Regions from separate parts of the Homo sapiens genome. Here region 2 is linked to region 1. The links are contacts of gene promoters, found by promoter capture Hi-C in blood cells and fetal thymus (Javierre and others, 2016). All regions are on one chromosome and are shown on one strand. Each heading gives the region's core, a stretch centred on a gene start or on the middle of the fragment in contact. The rest is flanking DNA. Distances are from core to core; before and after follow the strand shown.

Region 1 (2,961 bases), core at 15-2,514:
ATTAAATGCTTAAGATTTCTCCAAGGAATAAATATAAGAAGTAGGAACACTTACTTTCCAGTAATAAACTGACTCCTGGATGGTGTGCAAATAGGCTGGACATAGTAGTTCTCCAGTTTAACTCCTTCGGCAGCGAGCTTGTCAAGAGTAGGTGTTTTAATCTCAGATCCGTGGTAACCCACATCTCTAAATCCCTGATCATCCGCTAGGATGAAAATGAGATGGGGCTGGGAGGTGGAAGTTGTGCTGGGCTCTAGTTTCTCTCCAGCTTGAGCTAGTAAGGCCCCTTCTTCCTCCTCTTCTAAGGCCTGGCCCCAGGACAGGTAACCATAAGTGAGGAGGCAGAGGATCCAGAATCCTGCCAGCGCCCCCATTGCTAGCATCTTTCCAGGACAGACACAGGCCTGTGGAGAAGGCGGAGGCGGATGCCCCGCACAGCCCCTGGGAGCCATTCACTCAGGTCCCAGGTGAGACTCCACGCGGAGAACCACGCGCCCCGCGCCGCTGCGGGCGCACACATGCACCCAACAGACGGTGAAGACTCTCCACCTGGCAAGAAATCCTCCTCTCCTCTCAGCTGTCACCATGTCCGACAACTTTAATCTTCCAGAAGTGATGGCTTAATGGATGGGACTCCGGAAGAACAAGGAGGGCTCGCTCTTCTCCAGCACATTTCACTTTCTCCTCCTCCTCCCCCCTCCCTAGAGCAGCTTCCACCAAGGAAAAAAAAAAGAAAAAAGTTAATATCTCCACCCAAAAGTTCTCTGGAGAAAAAAACCAAGCAAGGAATTGAGAATCACAGTGGACAGGAACTTTTCGTGGCCAGAGCGCCCTCGACGTTGGGGAGCGAGGCTGACTCTCCTGGGAGTGCTGGTACGGAGGGCGGCGGGATCGGCCGTCTGTCCTGCGGTCCCCACACCTGGAAAGAACTGCGAAGTGGACGCGTCGCGTCTGGCTCTGATCAGACAGATAAACTGCCGTAGTGGACCGGCCTCCTGATCACCTTCTCCACTTTCCCAGGGCTATTTTCCCCAGTCCTTTCCTAGGCGTTTGCCAATCTCCCCGACACTCACCAGGCGGCGAAGTGAGGAAGAAGCCGTTTCCTGATCTCCCTCCACCTCCGCAGAAACTCCGGGCAGCAATTCCTTTTCCCCGCTGCTAGGGAGCCTGAAGGCCAAAGCCGGGTCCCTAGCCCCGCGGCCGGTCCGCGCGGAGCCCGCTTGGTCTTTGCGTAGTTGGCGCACCCGGCGCAGGCGCTGCAAACTGCGTGCGTTTTCTCAGCTAACTTATTTAGCTTTGGCACTCCGAGTTCTTTTGCCTCCTCCCTCTTTTCTCTCCAGTGAATCACAGAACGGTACTTTCTTCCTGAGCTCCCCCGGGAAGAGGGGGTGGGGGAAAAGGACTGTTTAGAGGCTCGATCTTTCCTTTTTCTTTTCCGGGAGGTGGATGGCCAAGGCAGAGGAGGCTTTGCCAGAGAGAGAGCTGCGTGCTGCTCCAGCCCAGCGGGATTCCGGGGGATCCGCCTGGGCTACCGCGTCCCAAGAGTGTCGCCTCCTGCCCATCACCCCGCTAGAGGGAAAGGACGGCGGCGCGAATGGGGAAGGGTAAAGCGGGCACTTCTTTTCGTGGGGCTGTTGGTGAAGAGCCCCGTCTCCCATCCCTAAAGTTGCGCTTGCAAACTTTTTCTAGCTTCTGGAGGGAGTGAGAGAGAAGGAGCAGGAATAAAAACAAAATGCGTATGACACTCTTTCCTCTTTCCAACTTCCTTTGCAGGTTTTCCTTTACTAGTCCCCCCACCCCCATCATTTTCCTATTCCTTTTGTCCCTACCTTTTTTTTTTTTTTTTTCAGTAACGATGACAAATTTTTAAGTTTTATTTCCTCTCCCAATAGCTGGCTTTTACAGCCTGATTCTTCGTTACCCTTTCCCTATGTGAAAATACTGGAATTGCCCGCTCCCTCTTACCTCTCCCCTAACTTACCCACAGGGTGTCTCCAGCCAAAAGCCTGGAGAGGAAGAGTTATGCATTTCTCCTTCAAGAACCCCGAAGCCAGTCTGCATTCCTGCATTAAAGAAGCCAGTGTTTCCCATCCAGTAATTCAGGGAGCTTCATCATTTTTTTTCCTTCTTTCTTTTTTACCATGTGGAGGAAAACCATTGTAAAAACTTATCTTGGTTGTGAAAATACTCTTGATTTTACTAGAGTCATAGAGTTTTAAAGTCCTGCTCAAAGGCAGCAGAGGGATGTATAGTATAGTCTCTATAGAAGAGGCAATGAATGCCAAGAGCCACTGAGATATTTTTTTCTACCACCAAATTTATTCAACAGTTACTTACTGAATACCTACTGTGGGCTGGCACATAACATGTCAGATTCTCTCAATTGACTGAAACATAAATCTAGGTTTCATTTAGCCATTTATTTCTAATTCTCTCCTGTTGCTAAAGTTCCTGCTGAGTTCCCAGGCAAAACTTTGTGAAATGGGAACTTTGAAAGGCACGATGGTGCTCCATGAAGTTAACCTTGCTAGCTGCTGTAGGCCTTCTGGTCTCTGTTCTTCCTTGCAGCCCTTCTGGCTAAGCTGGGGAGAGATAGTCAGTTTTAGAAGCCATGTTCAGAAATGTGAGTTTAGCAATTCTGTAAATTAAGTCACCAAATATGTAATGAGAGTACTGAGTGTCAGGGGATTGAAAAGCATTGAGAGGTAGGGCCCTAGGCTTAATGGGCCTAGCCAGGTGCTTGAATGGGAAAGATGCAAACATTCTGGTCAATCTAGCCTTTTATTTGGGGAGATAGTGACTTCTTGTGACATAGCACAAGAAGTATCCATGTTCTGTGCAAGAAGGAGACACATTTTCAGTTGAGGTTCCAAGCAATAATAATAAAAAACAATCAAAATGTATGGAATACTTACCATGTGCTAACCATAGTATTCTATATACTGATACATACACACATAT
Region 2 (3,032 bases), core at 386-2,885, 430 kb before region 1:
TGAAAGTCCCAATGAAACAAACAAACAAACAAAAATTATATTTCTTCACTTTTTTTAGCTTTACGTTGGAATCAAATAAAGCTGAATAAAGCTAATTTTGGTTCTAACAAAAATGACATCCAACATAGACTTTGTGACATGTTCAGACAAAACAATTTGAGTTGTGTTGTTTTCATTGTAAGTGTACAAATTAAATAATATGTATAAGAAGGTAAAATCTCCATATTTAGAAAGAAAAATTTATAAAGAATTCCCATAATGTTCTGGGAAAATTCTTCAGAGATATAAAATTTCCAGGTATTTCTTATACACATCTAAACTGTTTAAAATCTGAGGTCACAATTAAACAGGTGTTGAAACAAGAGGGTAAACACAGATGAAGTGGCAGGTGAAACAAGGGTCAAAAAAAATGGAGGGACACATTTACCATTTCGCCTTAGAAGCGTTGCTTTTTGTAAAGTATATAACAGGAAAACAAATGCAAGTCTCCAACAATAAAGGGAGAATTTAAAGTAAACTCATGAATAAAATAAACCCCTCTTTAGTGTAAGAATACTTTGGGGAAGAGCTAGGGAGCTTTCAAAGAATAAATAAATACAAATTTACAATCCCCTGGAGCATTGGTAATTATTAAACCCACTTCCATACACTTCAGTGAAGAAAAACTTTTGCTTCATACTATATCAAAATGCACATTTTATGCTATTCTTATTAAGGGTTCACTGATATCAAATGGGACTGCTAATTAGAGAGGAGAAATCCTTGTTTGGCACCTATAAGGTCCTGTGAACTGTCATCTGACATATAATAATGCAGAACACATCACACTGATGAATTTTGTATAAGTTCACTGTGCAATTCAAATGCAAGTACATCCTGAACTACATTTATTCATTGAAAGATGAAGCAAACATTTTAATAAGGACATTTTCAACCACTTAATGTATAAAATAATATTATTCTAAAGAAAAATCTTGAATTTAAAAAAGTAATCACCATCTGATTTATTACAATGTAAATATTTTAAAAATTGATCATGACTATGATTTTCTAGCTCTTTTATTAACAATACCACTAAAAGCGTCTCACATTCATTGCTGTTGACTACATTGTTTATTTGAGTATTGGTCATTATTTTTAAACCATAGGAATCTTTTTTCTTTTACAATAATGTTCACTTTGCACTACTCTTTAAGAATATTTCTCTTCCTGTTCTCAAACAACAAGCATAAATTATTGAATCTTGGGAATAACAGAAGATAAAGAAGTAAACAATAACACATACTAAATGGACTTCACCATTTTTTTTACTAGTGAGAATGGATTCAATTCTTAAATTTTTGAGAACTAGTAAAAAATTTTTACAATTTTTTGACAATCAAATAGCCTCTTTTGAGACAGGGTCTCACTCTGTCGCCCAGGCTGGAGTGCAGTGGCATGATCTCTGCAGCCTCCACCTCCCAGGTTCAAGTGATTCTCCTGCCTCAGCCTCCTGATTATCTGGGACTACAGGTGCATGCTGCCACACCTGGCTAAGTTTTGTATTTTCAGCAGAGACAGGGTTTCACCATGTTGCCCAGGCTGGTCTCGAACTCCTGGGCTCAAGCAATCCTCCCACCTTGGCCTCCCAAAGTTCTGGGATTATAGGAGTGGGCCACCACATCTGACTGAGAAATAGCCTCTTTATGTATTTAGAAGGGAATGTTCCTTCTCTTTGATTTTATCGGAGAGCTTTCATAAAAAATATCTTAGAGCTCTTTAGCAGTAAAAATAGTCTCTATTTTAATTTCAACCAGTATTTTTCAAACCAAGTAACAGCCTGCTTAACATAACTTTGAAGGGTAACATTAATGAAATTCCCTAGTTTAGTACCTTGATTAAAAGTATTACTGTTTCTTGGCAAGTGGCCAAATAGCTACTTCCAGAGGTTCCCCATGGCCCCTTTCAGGACCCTAATGTGGGGATTTGGGGTAAACTGAGCAAGTGATGATTCACTCATCATAGTATAAATTACACAGAATTTTCTATTTGACTTTGGCCATAAAAATTCCATTAAAAAATTAGAGCGTAGTCATGTACAGATAGATTCACAAAGTGCCATAAACAGTGCATTAAACCAAGAAGAAAAATTAGAAACTTAGAAGTGTGCCTCTGAGGGCAAGGAGGGGCTGGGAACCTTAATATCAGCTGGACATCTGTTGAGGGTCAGGCTACAATGGGATTAGCAAGCCTTGGGAAGCTCTGATGGCATTGGAGAATGGGAGCAGAGTCAATCTCTGCTCCCAAACATCTCATTTACATTGCTAATAATGAGCCAATCACTCTTGATCAGATTTTTAAAAATAAATGACAGCTACAGAATATATAAAAGTACACAGGAAAATTTACACCATGCAATCCAGTAACATCTAAGCAAGTGGTTAATGTTACTCCACTCCAAAAGTGTTGCCTTGGATAGCCTAGGAAGTTGCAAATTAGACAAAAAACTTAGCCTTTTTTAAACTTTTGTAAAGATTTTGCCAATTAACAAGATTGAAAAATTACTCTTGAACTCTCTTAAATGCCTGAATAAATATATTTCAACTCAGGGGTTCAAGGGTTTTAATGAAATTTCCAAAGAGTTAATTAGCTAATAATAGTTCCTTAAAGAGACCACTGAGACTTTTTTCAGGCTGTTTCTGTTTTCTGATTAGATATTCATTGTTCAGTAGAACTTTCTGTGATGATGAAAATGTTCTATATCTGGTCTGGCCAATTGGTAGCTACTAGACACTTGTGGCTACTAGGCAGTTGGCTAGACCAACTACATGGTTAGACCAACTGAGAAATAAATTTTTAATTTAATTTAATTTTAATTAATTGAAATTGCAATAGCCACATGTGACTACTGGCTACCACTGGGCAACCTAGAATCTATCTAGGGATTAGAGGATTTCAATCTTTGATCTCTGACTTTCACTAAAAAATATATTGCTTTAGCAGAAGTCATTCCAATTAGGTGGGGTGTTTTGGTTTGTTTTTCCTTGTTGTTT

The links. The method cuts DNA at HindIII sites, captures the fragments that hold promoters and counts their contacts. A CHiCAGO score of 5 or more calls a contact.
Region 2: a fragment that was not itself captured here is called in contact with the fragment with the promoter of ARSJ in region 1 in 1 of 17 cell types (naive CD4 T cells); the score reaches 5.8 in naive CD4 T cells.

Annotation. Positions count from the first base shown.
Region 1 is chr4:113,978,383-113,981,343 of GRCh38, forward strand. It overlaps ARSJ (arylsulfatase family member J), which reads right to left and starts at 1,265. Exons shown (of 2, transcript NM_024590.4): 1 at 55-1,265. The coding sequence starts at 452. LOC107986305 (a long non-coding RNA gene) reads left to right here and starts at 1,431. Exons shown (of 2, transcript XR_001741794.2): 1 at 1,431-1,604; 2 at 1,988-2,961. It overlaps LOC124900762 (a long non-coding RNA gene), which reads right to left. Exons shown (of 3, transcript XR_007058237.1): 3 at 2,513-2,582. The HindIII fragment of the contact is 10,512 bases long and covers 1-2,961 here.
Region 2 is chr4:113,548,804-113,551,835 of GRCh38, forward strand. All of the region lies in intron 5 of CAMK2D (calcium/calmodulin dependent protein kinase II delta), which reads right to left. Among named protein-coding and RNA genes, the nearest start is that of CAMK2D, 210 kb to the right of the region's middle. The HindIII fragment of the contact is 5,372 bases long and covers 1-3,032 here.